2 separate regions of the Homo sapiens genome follow, and region 2 is linked to region 1. The links are contacts of gene promoters, found by promoter capture Hi-C in human tissues and cell types (Jung and others, 2019). All regions are on one chromosome and are shown on one strand. Each heading gives the region's core, a stretch centred on a gene start or on the middle of the fragment in contact. The rest is flanking DNA. Distances are from core to core; before and after follow the strand shown. Region 1 holds the start of KIAA0232. Region 2 overlaps TBC1D14 (TBC1 domain family member 14).

What was found. The method cuts DNA at HindIII sites, captures the fragments that hold promoters and counts their contacts. A contact is called where the count stands out against the background at its distance.
Region 2: a contact is called between a fragment that was not itself captured here and the fragment with the promoter of KIAA0232 in region 1, in 1 of the 25 tissues and cell types used here (heart left ventricle).

Annotation. Positions count from the first base shown.
Region 1 is chr4:6,779,693-6,786,544 of GRCh38, forward strand. KIAA0232 reads left to right here and starts at 3,035. Exons shown (of 10, transcript NM_014743.3): 1 at 3,035-3,149. RefSeq lists silencers at 2,415-3,294, 3,355-4,124. The HindIII fragment of the contact is 16,993 bases long and covers 1-6,852 here.
Region 2 is chr4:6,988,356-6,995,462 of GRCh38, forward strand. It overlaps TBC1D14 (TBC1 domain family member 14), which reads left to right. Exons shown (of 14, transcript NM_020773.3): 4 at 5,829-5,947. Among named protein-coding and RNA genes, the nearest start is that of CFAP184, 51 kb to the right of the region's middle. The HindIII fragment of the contact is 7,304 bases long and covers 159-7,107 here.

The sequences.
Region 1 (6,852 bases), core at 1,785-4,284:
GTGCCACACGACATCACAAAGCATCCCGGACCCAGCCTCATCCCTGCTGTTCACTAAGCATACACATTACACAATCACTGCCCCAGATGGCAGCTGCTAGAATCCTCGCTAGCATCGAACATCCAAGTCAGAGGGCACTCAGAGTCGTCAGCTTCCTCCAGCATTGCCTTACCCGGCTGTAGGGGTTAAAAAGCTGTGGCAGGTGCTCCTGAGACTAGAGAAATGAAATGAATGATCTCAGACATACACAGGAGACAATGGTTTCTTCTCAGAAAATGCTGAAGGGGGAGTCTACCGCCTCCACACCAACCCTGCCTTAACGCAGGAGTCCTCTGGCCTCATTTGCATTCCCTAGGGATCTTAGCCCACAAGAGGGAGAAAGCTACTGTTCTCCTGAGTTTAAGTTGGCTGATCTCTACCCGGGAGCCTGAAGGAAGGTCGTAGGCAGCGTGGCACACTACAGGGGGTAAGGGGCTCATGCAGAAGAGCCCTGTTCCTGATTGCTCAAGGGAAGGTGGGATTGTTTTCTCCCTGATGTGCACTCTGACTACATCACAGATGATAGTTCAGTCCTGCACCTACAAACTGGCAGGCTCCGTGCTGGGCTCTGGGCATATGAAAATAAGCACCACAGGCAAAATGCCTGCTCTTGTGAGATACAGGTCTTGAGTGAGGAGGCTGAGATGAATGAGGAAACAAACATACAAACGAGATGATCTCAGATACTGATAAGAGCTGTGAATAAAGAAACAAAATATAGCAGTGGCATCATGACTGGGAAGGTTGGCTACTCCAAACTGGGCATCTAGATGTCTCTGGGCAGGTGACATCGTAGCAGGGCCTTTAACAAGAAGGAACCAGCCACGCAGAGGTCTGGGGAGGGAGTTCCTCACAGAAATCAGCAGATGCAAAGGCCCTAAGGTTGGAGTCAGCTGAGACTCCTAGGATTTTTATCAAAATAATTTGGAGGACAGGAGGCTATTTTGTTAAGAAAACAAAGTAAACAAGACACTTTCTTTCCCTAATCTGTCATCTTTCCCCACCAGCTCCAAATCCTATTAATACAAGATAATTCCTACTTAAAAACCTCTTCTTCCAAGAAGTCTTCAGGTTCTACTAGTTCATGGTAGAACTAGTATAAAAACTGGTCTGTGGCAAAGTAATAAAAAAAAAGGTCAATAAACTCTGTGTGTGTGTGTGTGTGTGTGTGTGTCACTATACAGGTGCCAACCGTGTTTCCTTTCTTCAGAACTGAGATATACTGTTATTACTTTTCAAAAAATTTTGCTGTTAATACTCTTTTGTAAAATATGATGTAGATGACAGATATGTCACCAATGTAGCAAAAATCAAAAGCTGACCATCCTTTGCAAATCCCCCATACTTTGGTCTGTGAAATCCTGGAGCCTGGAGGCACCTGTGAACTAGGCTCTGAAGCTCTGCTACTCTCCCCTCCTCTACTCCCAAGTGGCCCTGGATTTCCCATACCCTTTCCATTCTCGACACTGTTTTTAGAGTTTGAGTTCCAGGAGCACAGGGACTGTGCGTTCCCGGCACTGAGCCAGGTCCACAACAAGCACTCAGAAGAAACTGACTGAATGAACGTGTGATTTATGACGATATACATTCACCTGAGCGAATGCTCAGAGAATACAATTAGAAGCAAACTGGTTAAGGGAGACAGTAGTGTAAAGGAAACGAAACCCCATATTTCAGAGCCAGGAGCCTGGGTTCACATTCTGTCTCCTGCAAGAGGTGGTTTAGCAAGGTCAGAAGGCCCTGTCCACTCGGTAGCAGCCAGGCTTGGGTGAAATCACTTTCTTTCAGCCTCAGCTTCCTCACCAGTTAAATGCGGATGACAAAGATTTGTCCCACGATTTTTGTAAAGAACAAAAAGATATGTTCGCAGAAAAAACACTCTGTAGATAGTACGTAAGCGACAGTTCCTCGGTTTGTCCTTCCATGGATGCATGGAGCATCTAGCCAACTCAGCAGATGACCCCTCTCCAGTGTTTCAGCATCTGCTTCTCCCACAAGCCCGTGAGCTGGTGCAGGAAATTCTCCAACAGGTTCTGAACAGAAAAGCATAGTGCCTGGCACCTAGTGGGTGCTGCATAAATGAACAAATGACCCCAGGTAAGTCACTCCTCCCATTGGACCTCTTTCTTCTAAGTAATCTCCCTTCCTTTTCCAGGTCCATGATACTTATTTGCTTTTTTAGAACAGGCCTAGGAGTCACATTTAGGGAAGGTAGGTGGCTGTGAAGACACTTTGATTAAAAGGTTAATGCACATTTTTGGTTTCCACTTTCGAAGCTTCCAGAATTTATTTTTGCCTAGTTAATAAAAAAAGAGCCATGTCACATTTCTTTAGCTTGTCTTCTGGGTTCCTTAACAACAACAACAAAAAATTAAAGTCTTTATTTTAAGCCGCCTACTCCAGCCATCCCAGGACGCGGCGAGGAGGGGGCGCGGACAGGTGGCGCGCGAGCCCGGGAAGGCGGGGGCTGCACCGGGCCGCGGGCGGGGCCGTGCACGCCGAGCCCCACTTCCCCAGCGCGGGCCGGGGGCGGGGCGCGGCGGCAGAGTTCGGGGGCTTCTGCCGAGGGCAGTCCCACGTGCCCCTCCGCGGGAGACGTCTCCTCTCCGACGCCCAGCACGCTGGGGGGCTCCCGCTTCCTGCCTGCCCTCTCTACTGCTTGCCCTCTCACCTCCCAGCGGCTTCCGCCGCCCCGGCCAAGCTGCACGGCGCGTCCCGGGCCCTAGACCCCCACCCGCCAGGCACCAGCCCCGGCCTGTCCCCTCGCGCCGTCAGCCCGCGGCCCACCGCCCGCGCGCGCCCGCAGCCCAGCCGGAGGGAGGGGCAGGGGCGGGGACCGGCCGGCGCTGATGTAATCCCGGCACCCGGGCGGAAGGATATGGAGCGCGCCCCTGGTTGGCGGGGCGCTGAGGCCAGTTGCCGGGTAACGGAGCGGAGCGGCTCCCGGCGCGCCGCCTCCCGCCCTCCGCGGAGTGGCGCTGGGGCCGCCGCCGCCGCTTTACGTAAGGCGCAGGCCAGGGCCGCCCGGCGCTCGGCAGCCGCCCGCAGCCCCTCGGAGCCAGAGGAGAGGCGCCCCCGCCGGCCGCCGCGCCGCCCGGCAGCCTCGGCAGGTACTGCGGGCAGGCGGCGGGGAGGGAGGGCGCGGAGCAGCCCCTCGGCCGGGTGGGCGCGGGCCGGGGAGGCCGGACGCTCGCCGCCGTGGGGCTCCGGGGCCAGCCCGAGGGAGGCCGGGCCGCAGCCGAAGGCTTCGGGGTCAGCCCAAGGGAGACAGGGCCGCCGCCGTGGGCTCTGGGGCCAGCCTAAGGGAGGCCGAGCCGCCGCCGAGGGCTCCGGGGCCAGCCTGAGGGAGACCGGGCCGCCGCCGGGGGCTCCGGGGCCAGCCTGAGGGAGGCCGGGCCGCCGCTGATGGCTCCGGGGCCAGCCTAAGGGAGACCGGGCCGCTGTTGATGGCTCCGGGGCCAGCCGAGGGAGGCCTGACCGGCCCCGATCCTGGTGGTGCCCGGGCGTGCGGGTGAGCTGTGGGCCCTGGGACCCCCGCCCCGACCCCAGGACGCCGGGACACCAGCTTGCGGCTCTTGCGCCCGGGTGGGCTGTGGACGATGAGTCCGCACAATGGGTTGCCGTTGGCTGCCTCCTGCCTGGGGCAGGTGTCGCCGCGCCGGGGCGGCTCTTCTAGGGGAGACGAGGCGGGGGTGCTTAGACTTGATAGGACGTAGAGCCCCGAAAGTGGGCGCGGGAGGAAGGCTTCGGCCGGTGGGAGGCGCCCGGCGTCCCCGGCAGCGGGGTCAGGCCGGCAGCCTGGGCCGCTCGCTCGCGTTCCCTCCGTTCCCCTCCCCTCCAGCATTGTCCTTTTGGGGCCCCGGGAAGGGAAAACCGCCGGGCGGGGGAGGAGGGCCGCAGGCGGGCGGGGCCGGGAGGCCGGCTGAGCGACTGGCGCGCCGGCCTATGGCGCGGGGCGCGGCGCGGGGGGCGGGCCTGGCGGGCGGGGCCGGTGCGGCGCAAGGTTTGGCGAAGGTTACAGCTGGAGCTAGGAGTGACAGGCCCACAGTCATCCGTGCGCTGCGCGGCAAACCCTGTCGCGAGGGCGCCCCGAGTTGCTGCGGGGCCTGATCCGGCTCCTTTCCAACAATACGCGTCTGCAGCCGGCATTTCTAGAGCTCTCTGCTTCTTCCCGCTGGAGAAACCAGTGTGTGTCGTGTTGGAATGCTTCGTCTTGCCCTAGAATTCAGCTTGCGTCTTGTGGTGCGCAGGTGACAGGACCTGCCGAACTCTTGGTACAGACCCCTAAATCATGGCAGAACTGTCTTGATTTCTTTTTTGCCACCTTTCCGTTTTTGTCCTCTATAGGCAAGCTATAAAGATTTAACCCAGTTAAAAACAGGAGGGAGATTCAGCGGAGAGGAGGCATGCGAGATTCTTTGGAAAAAATTATATAAATGTAGTTCTTGCTAATAATTACCTGGGTTGGATACTTTGACTTACTGTTCAAGTTCCTAAGAAGGGATTTTACATTTCTGGGTCTTGTTTTAAAAACTGTTAGAAAGCTCGTGAGGGGGTAGGGACAAGCAGTTTTGGTAATAGGCGATGCTGTGGATAAAACTGTGCGGTAAAATGCCCAAGCTAGATTCTTCCTATGCAAAATAAGACCCGTTCCAGAACACTTTGACCATTTCGTGGACTTAGAATTTAAAGGCGGGTGAGGGCGGGGGGGGAGGAGGAGCGGATTCTATCACTCTGCATCCTCAAGGTCAAATATTCTTCCATCAGTTATTTTGGATTGAACCATTCTTAAATAGGTCTCAGGATCTCTATGTCGCTTCCTTATGACAGAACCTATTTCCGAGAGTGTGCCTTTGCATATCTATAGAAGCTCCTTTCACTTAATATATCTTATAACTCAGATTCAATTGCTGTACTTGCTAAATAATGCATTTTTAATCATTCAAAAAGTGGTTTACAGCTTCCTTGGGTATAATGGTTTTTATGTAAGCCCGTTACATCAGTGAAATGCCAGTTTTTAAACATTGAAGGGAAGGGAGAATATTATTCTTATTTATTTCCATAGGAAGTAGAATTCAAAGTGCAGGTGCTTTTTTGTTTGCTTTGGAGAAAAAGTATAGGTCTTTAACATGACGTTAACAGAAGTCAAATCTAAGGATAATTAGCTTGTTATGCAAGTTGCAAACATTTAAGAAGATCAGATGAATTTTTTTTTTTTTTTTTTTTGAGACGGAGTCTCGCTCTGCCGCCCAGGCTGGAGTCCGCGATCTCGGCTCACTCACTGCAACCTCCGCCCGCCGGGTACAAGCGAGTCTCCTGCCTCAACCTCCCGAGTAGCTGGGACTACAGGTGCATGCCACCACCCCCGGCTAATTTTTTGCATTTTTAGTAGAGATGGGGCTTCACCGTGTTAGCCAGGATGGTCTTTCTCTCCTGACCTCGTGATCCGCCTGCCTCAGCCTCCCAAAGTGCTGGGATTACAGGCGTGAGCCACCGCGCCTGGCTGATTAGATGGATTTTTAACACTTCCAGTGGTAATATAGGGTAATGTAGCTAGCCTACTCTGTGCTATGTTGTACGGTAGCACTCTTCAAAAGAAATTAGATTGTTCTTGTTCTTTATTTTTCATTGTGTGGAAAAGTGCTGAGCCTGCGCTTTGTCCTTGTTTTTGTAGCATTTGACTTGGCAGTTAATGGCTTGTGAGCTAATTTCCTCATCTGTAGAATGGGAAGATTGATGACACCTGTTTCACAGAATAGTTGGGATGATCACTTGAGGGAAGACGTGAAATGTCGTCAAGACTCAAACCCTTTAAAAATACTCGCCTAGTGTAAGTGTTAAAACCTCAGATTACTTGCTTTGCTTAAAGTTTTTAACTTTGTCTTCAGGCTCCTCGCCACCCCTTCCTATCCATTCTTTGCCTGGCTGCCAGAGTCATCTTTCCTGAGCTCAGATCTTGTCAGTCTCTGGCTCAGTAGGCTTCTAAGACTGCCTGTGGTTTGGAGCTTAGAATTCAGAGATACCAGCATCACAATGCAGGCCCCTTGCAGTCTGGCCCCCAGTCATCTCTGTACTTTATCTTGTCCTCTTTGTCCCCTTTCCACACTGTCCAGCTAAACAAGACTGCTCTTGGTTCTCTGAACATGCCAAGCTATTTCAGACCTTCTTTGCTTATATTCTTTTCTCTTATTGGAATGTCCTGTCTCACTCCCACTCCCTCCAGTTCTTAAAAGTTCATATCAAATATTCTGTTCTCTCTGGAGTCCTTTGGAAGTCCTATTACAATGAATTATTCCTTTCCTCAATCATAGTTCTCTATTTTTCCTTCATTATTGTCTATATCATGTTGTATTATAAATTGGTCATAGTAAACTCTGGCTGTGGTGTCTATCCTATCATTTTGCCCCCAACACCTTGCTCAGGCGTTTAAACATAAGTGCTTAATGTTAAATGTAAGTGTTTAAATGTTTGCTAAATAAAGTCAAAGTCTGTAATCAACCTTAAAGAGTATGTTAATATTATAAAGTATATTTATTTTTATTTTTTCTGACCCTGGCTTAAGTCTGCAAATAAAGTTTGTTTGTTTTTGAGACAGCATCTTGCTTTGTCACCCAGGCTTGGAGTGCGGTGGTGTGATCGTGGCTCACTGTAGCCTCAACCTCCCAGGCTCAAGTGATCCTCCCACCTCAGCCTCCTGAGTAGCTGGGACCACGGGCATGCACCACCATGCTCAGCTAATTAAAACAATTTGTTTTTTTGTAGAAACGGGTCTCCCTGTGTTGCCCAGGCTGATCTCGAACTCCTGGGCTCAAG
Region 2 (7,107 bases), core at 2,561-5,060, 210 kb after region 1:
TATGCTGGTTCTCATTTAATCTTCAAGTGTAACAGATGAGGAAACAGGCTTGTGGATGGAGGAGGAGCTCAAGGTCATTCTGCTGGTGGTGCTGGCTCAGACCAGGCCTGCCGCTGTCCCCCAGCGCTTCCCTGGGTCCTCAGCCTGTGCAGATGTGGTGGCCGTGCTGTCACAGCATTAGTTCAAGTCAGTCTTTTGATAGGTACCACTCGGATGGCCAGCCTGCCTTGGCAGCTTTATTCCAGGCGCGCTCCCAAATCCTCAGGTTATTTTCACTGGTGAATCTTGATACTGCAGACAGCGGGGTCGGAGATTTAAGCACAGGATTTGACTGATGACCCTTTCCTCTTCTAGGTAAAATAGATTTCCAGGGAGCCAGAGGCTCCTTCCTGGAAGTCAGGGGGCTTCCAGTAGCAGGTTATTGACATCATTGGCTGTTTTGTAGTGTTCCTCCAGTTCATAAGTAGCATTGATGACCTTTCTTGTCTTTCTACCAGGAGTACTTTCTTTTTTCTTTCTTTCTTTCTTTCTTTTTTTTTTTTTTTTTTTTTTTGAGACAGGGTCTTGTCCTGTTGCCCTGGTGCGGTTATGGCTTACTGCAACCTTGAACTCCTGGGCTCAAGTGATCCTTGTCTCAGCCTCTTGAGTAGTTGGGACCACAGGCACAGCACCTCTGTGCCAGGCTTAGGAATACTTCTTCATTGTTTGAGAATCATGATCCTTTCTTTTCGCTCTTAAAACAAATGTGCATTGAAGCAGGCTTTTCCCCCGCTTTTTAAACCAACAAACGTTAAACCTAATTCAGGAGCCTCGTGCCCTTCTTGTCTTTAGCACTGTGCAGATCACACGTGGAATGTAGACCCTGCCCCTGGATGCGTCTGAGGGGCTCCCCATACCTCATAGTCTCTCCTCTGGCTCTCCTCTCTCTCCTGGGGCTTGTCCCAGCACCTCTGGGTAACGTGTTGAGACCTTCAAATCTAGAGCAAAACAACTTTGACTCTGCACCATTCCCGGTTCAAATCCTGGTGCTAGCCTGCTTGTGGGTGTCTCTTGGCCACTGCTTCTGCTGTCAGAGTGCCTCTTCCTCTTGGCCTCTAGCCCACGTCTTACCTGTCTGTCCACTCAGCTGGCCCCTTTGTGAAAGCTTCCCATGTCCCCCTGGCCTCAGGCATCCTGCCCTTCCTCCCACAGTGTGTGGCTCGCCCCTCCTGGCACATCTCACGGTCTCACCTGTGTGGGAGCCTCTGCCTGCATCGTATTGCCCCTGTCGAGTGAGCCCTGCTGGGTTGGAGATTGAGGATCTCCTAAACTGCCAGGCCCGCGTGGTCCCTTCACAAATTAGTTTCCTCTTTTCCACATGGCCCCTTCCCTCTTGCCCTGCATGCTGAGTCTCATGCAGAGCCCTCTGCATGAGACTGGGGCTCTGCTCAGGCACCCTGCCTCCCTGCCTTTTTTCTTCAACCTTAGCTGGGTCATCAGACCACACCCCACAAGTTGGCTGCTAGTGAGGTGCTGCTGCCATGTTGGTATGGTCTCGTCTTTCCCAGCGTGATTCCTTATAAGCTGCCCAGAGCAGGGACTTCGAACAACTGTGCTTCTAAACTGACAGCCTGCAAACTTTTTTGAAATTATCCCCAGTTAGACACTTTAAATTGAGACTCATTGTACTGACATAACTAAGTGTAAAGCTGAAGCAAATTGTATTTATGTACTGTGTTTTATTGTTTTGTTTTTTTTAAAAATGCTGTTGTGACCAATCAAACTGATCTGCTGCTAGAACTTTGAAGAACCTTGTTCTAAATTCCTTCTGGGGGCTGGGTGCAGTGGCTCACGCCTGTAATCCCAGCACTTTGGAGGCTGAGGTGGGTGGATCACTTGAGATCAGGAGTTCCAGACCAGCCTGGCCAACATGGCAAAACCCTGTCTCTACTAAAAATACAAAAATTAGCTGGGCCTGGTGGCACGCGCTTGTAATCCCAGCTACTTGGGAGGCTGAGGCAGGAGAATCGCTTGAACCCGGGAGGCAGAGGTTGCAGTGAGCCAAGGTTGCACCACTGCACTTCAGCCTGGGTGACAGAACGAGACTCCTCAAAAATAAATAAATAAATTCCCTTTAGGGTTGTCCAGGGTGGCAGCTGTCACTTAAGTGGGCAGTTTATTTTACCTGTTAGTCTGCAGGGATTTTGACGAGCACAGCAAGACGGGCATCGATGCTTGGTTTAAACCAAGAGACTTCAAAATTTGGTCCCATGCAGAGATGGAACTTGGGAATGATGAGTTGGACTGAAGTGGACCGCACCAGTACTTGCCTGGCACACAGAAAGGGCTTGGCACTTGAGGGAGTGAGTGCCCAGCCATTTTACATATCTTATCTCTTGACCGCCACAGTGGTCTGTACAGTTGCTACTGTTTTATAGCTGAGAACAGACTGAGAGACAAGACGACTCACCCAAGCCAGGACCTAGAACTCTGGTTTTACTTCCAGAGCCTTATCCCTTGCTAGCCCGACCTTAGCGCTGATAATCCACAACTGAGTGTTCTTTCTCCAGTGCTGTTTCTTCCCTCCGGGATCCTGGGAGTGAACAGTCCTCTTTCTTCTTTCTAAAGTTGGTTTGTCTGGCCTGGACAGTGAGCTTACTGTTGTCACCTCCAGGTTGCCCTGGGAGAACCGGGTCTAGAGCAGGACCTGTCACCATTTCCAACACCATTTCTCTTCTGAAAGGGTGCCTAAGGTTTTGGAAAGGGCTTTGCCTGGGATTTCAAGTATGAGCAGGCTAGGCCACCTGTGTTACTTTATTATTTTAATCATGCCTTGGTCTGTGATTAAAACAAGCATTTGACCCTGCGTCTCTGCTGATCTGTGCACTTAGTTCAGTATTTGAGGTTTCGGTCACGGTTGTGAAAACTACTGAGACTGAATCTGAATGATGGATTACTTCTGATGCATGTCTGCCAGAGGCTTGCATGAATTCTGTGATGAGGAGTGTGGCTGCGGAACCCCAGCGCGTGGCCTGTGACCCAGCTTCCCCACTTGCCCGCCGGGTAAGTCACGGACACCTCTGGGTCCCCGTGTGTGTTTGGTGCACAGGGAGTGCTGGAGAAACAGCAGCCCTTGTTGGTCTGTGGCACTTGCTTTTTCTCCCCCTCAGACCTGAAACCACTGGAAGAGGCAGGAAACCATGCCTGCCTCAGGTAGCCTGCATCCCTGCTTTTTTTTCTTGAACCTTCGTTGGGCCATCTGACCACAGCCACAGCTTTGCGCTGGTGAGGTACAGCGTGTCCTTGTGCAGCTGTCTTGTTGGCGTGGTCTGGGATGGGGCAGCCCCTTCGGGGGGCTGGTGTGGAGGAAATGGAGTTAACCCAGCATGGTCTAGGGTGGAGCAGCCCCTTCGGGGGGCTGGTGTGGAGGAGATGGAGTTAACCCAGTGTGCACGCGTAAAGCACTCAGAGGTGCTGGGCTTGTTAGCGTCAGCCGCCGCCACTGTTTGTTGCTGTTGGTAATAGTAAGAAGCTCTGACTGAAGCGATCTGATGTTTCTGGTCATGACTCAAGGCTTTTACTTCCTTTTACTCCTACTTTTTGTATCTGTGCTGTTGGCAACTTGGCAGGGCTCCTAGATTGTTGTTTGGCACTAGAGCATGGTTTTCTGCCTTTCCCGTGGTTTCAGGTCTGAGGGGAGAGAAAGCTAGTGGCGCAGACCAACAAGGGCTGCCCTTCTCCAGCACTCCCTGTGCACCAGAGGCTGTGACATCACCTCATTCCTTCCAGCAGCCCACTCAGGGTGAGGCAGGCGGGGTTTCCCATTTTGCAGATGTGGAAAGAAGGCTTAGGGATTTGAAGTGAGTACCTTGCCCGAGGTCACAGCTGGTGGTTGGTGGATCTGAATTTGCTCCCAGAGCTATCTGGCTGCAGAGGCCACACCTAAGCCGTGTAGGACTCGGGCTTTCCCCTCTAAAACTGCACACCTGTGGGTTTGAGTGTATTCACAGATGATATTGGGCCGGCTCAGGGCGGCAGGCCCAGCCTTGCTGGCTGTATGCTTCAGGCAAGTCACTTCACTTTGAGCCTCAGTTACCCTGTCTTTAAAATGGGTAACACTTGCCAAGCAGATTGCTGTGAAGACAAAGTGAGTCCACATGCACAGAGCACACAAAAGCCGATGGAAATGGGCATCCACATCCTGCCATGGCTGATTTTGGGCCCAGCATTCTGGCCTTGGCATACAGTTCACCAGACCAGGCTCAGCAGATAAGTAGCACCTCATGGGGTATGTGTTACTAATTCTTGTTAAAATGCAGCATGCCTCAGAATCTTTCTCAACACACAGCTTTTGTTTGATTTCCTATGAAATTGGAGACTTTGACATTCAGGTGCTAGACTTGAAGCTTCATGAGGGCTAGTGCCGTCTTAGGTCACGGCTGTGTACCCCATACAGTGTAGATGTTCAGATGCTTGAATCCAGCAAGGAATGAGTCCGTGTTTTCAGTTTTTGGTAAGTGGAAGTAATTTTAGAATTGTAATGAAACCATGTTAAGCCACAGTAAACAGTGTTAAGACATGTGACCATATACATCCAGGTGTACAGAAACTGCCCCACCCAACTGCTTCTTGGTGCACGTCCTTCTCATAGCCTGTGTATTTTGAGGAAATAATCTATTTCTTTATACTTTTTAGAGGCCTTTCTGGCTAAGAGAATAATTGCTTGCCGCATAATTTCACCAGTAACACGCCTCTTGACAGCTAGTTTCCCTGAAATTCATTTAGCAATTTCTCACCACCTCATGACAAACATGAAATCTTAGGTTAACACTACCTTCTTTGTCCTATCTTCTCAATGAGATTATCTTCCCTTCAGGGGCATTCCTGAGAGCCTTGTCTGTAATATTTCCTTAATTATCTATAATCATCTTAAATGATTGTGTTTTTTGATTTTGCACAGAGCGAAGTACCTACACATTATTTCAGAAGCACCAACCTGTTTGGCTCTCCTGAGTTCTTCCAGCTGGGCGTTTGGAATGTGGGTCACCGGGTGTGAATGAGCTCTTGTGGTTGCAGTGCACGGGTGAATCGGTGACCCAGTGATGTGGAGGCTGCTCTTAGATTTCCAGGGCATGGCAAAACTATTTACATAACAATTTGCAGTGGCAGCTTCCCAGTGGCCGTGATAATAATCAGTTAAAATTTACAGTGTCCAGAAGAGAGAAAACATGCCTGTTACCCAGGAGACAGTAGACCTGAGGCAGCGTTTGAGGGCCCTCCTCAAAGGGGCTGCTTTGATAATGAGATCCTTTGTTATTTCCCCACCAACGAGGGAAGCGTGCAGTCATATCATAAAGCAATGGTCTCAGCTTTGGAACTCTAAGACCCCTTTAGGCTGGGCACAGTGGCTCACGCCTGTAATGTCAGCACTTTGGGAGGCTGAAGCGGGTGGATCACCTGAGGTCAGGAGTTCAAGACCAGCCTGGCCAACATGGTGAAACCCCATCTCTACTAAAAATAAAAAAATTAGCCAGCCGTGGTGGTGAGTGCCTCTATTTCCAGCTACTTGAGAGGCTTAGGCAGGAGAATCGCTTGAACCGAGGAGGTGGAGGTTGCAGTGAGCCAAGATCATGTCATTGCACTCCAGCCTGGGCGACAGAGCGAGACTCCATCTCCAGAAAGACCCCTTTAGTCAGCGGCTTTTCATTCTGAATAGCAGGAAAGGTTTTTGGCGAATTGTCCTCGAAATTGGCTTAAAAGAGTTTCATGACAAAACAACTTTCTTACTTTCCGAAGGACTTCATCCTATCTGAAAGGACCTGGAGTCATCCCTGGTTTCTTTGTCCTAGGAATATGAAGACAAGGCTGGAAGACCTAGCAAGCCACCCTCTCCAAAGCAGAATGTGAGGAAGAATCTTGACTTTGAACCACTTTCCACCACCGCACTCATCCTCGAGGACAGACCAGCGTGAGTTTAAGAAGACTCTCTTTAGAGTGTTTGCTTTAGGAAATAAGTACAACTTGCTAAGCAGCTTTTCATTAGAGAAAAACTAGGGTCAGAAAAGGGGAGAAGAGTAAGCCAGAATCACTTCTTATTCTCTATATTAACATGTGTTCTGTAATTATATTAAATGACCAATTTGGAAAACTGTCCTATAGCATAGAAGTTTTGACCAGGATTTTCCGTTCAGGTAATTTTTCTTTTTACTTTAGCATTTAAAAATAAGTTGTCAGCTGGGTGCAGTGGCTCACGCCTGTAATCCCTGCACTTTGGGAGGCCGAGGCGGTGGATCACTTGAGGTCCAGAGTTGGAGACCAGCCTGGCCAACATGGTGAAACCCTGTCTCTACTAAAAATACAAAATACTAAAAATACAAAAAAATAGGTGTGGTGATGGGTGCCGTAATCCTAGCTACTCAGGAGGCTGAGGCAGGAGAATCACTTGAACCTGGGAGGCAGAGCTTGCAGTGAGCCAAGATCACACCATTAATTACACTCCAGCCTGGGCAACAAGAGCAAAACTCCGTCTCAAAAAAAAAAAAAAAAAGAAGCAGTGTGTCTTCTACTATTTTCTTGTCCTTGAAAGTTGTATGCTGGGGAGAGAAATGGAGGACTGGAAAGTTAGAGGCCATCAGGAAAAGACTCTGGCCTTTGAAGTCCAGTCGTTTTCATGCTCTGAAAGGTGAACTGGCGGACTCTCCTGCAAGTGATGGTTGTTTAAAATGTCCCAGTGAATGTGGGTCCTGTTGTGTGAGGGACACAGGCAGCCAGACACTCCTGCTCTCCTTTTACCCTAGTGCCAGTACAGTTACAAGCACGCTTCTGAAAGAGAGCACGAATTGTATTTTTTTAAATGGGTTTTGAAGGTATACCAAGATGCTTAGAACTAAGGTGCACATCTGTGTATATGTCAAAAAACAAATGAACCACGTAGCTAGTATGAAATCTGTTCACTTTAAAAATCTGGTCAGGAAATGTCTTCATACATACATGTAACAAATGCTGTTAGGGTGCCCTGCCTCAAGAATTAGGTGTTGACAGTTATTAGTGTATTGCAGTCAAATCAAAGTTTCTTTGGAGTGTGGGGTGAAAATATACCAAAAGATTAAGTGTTTATCACTGTTGCAG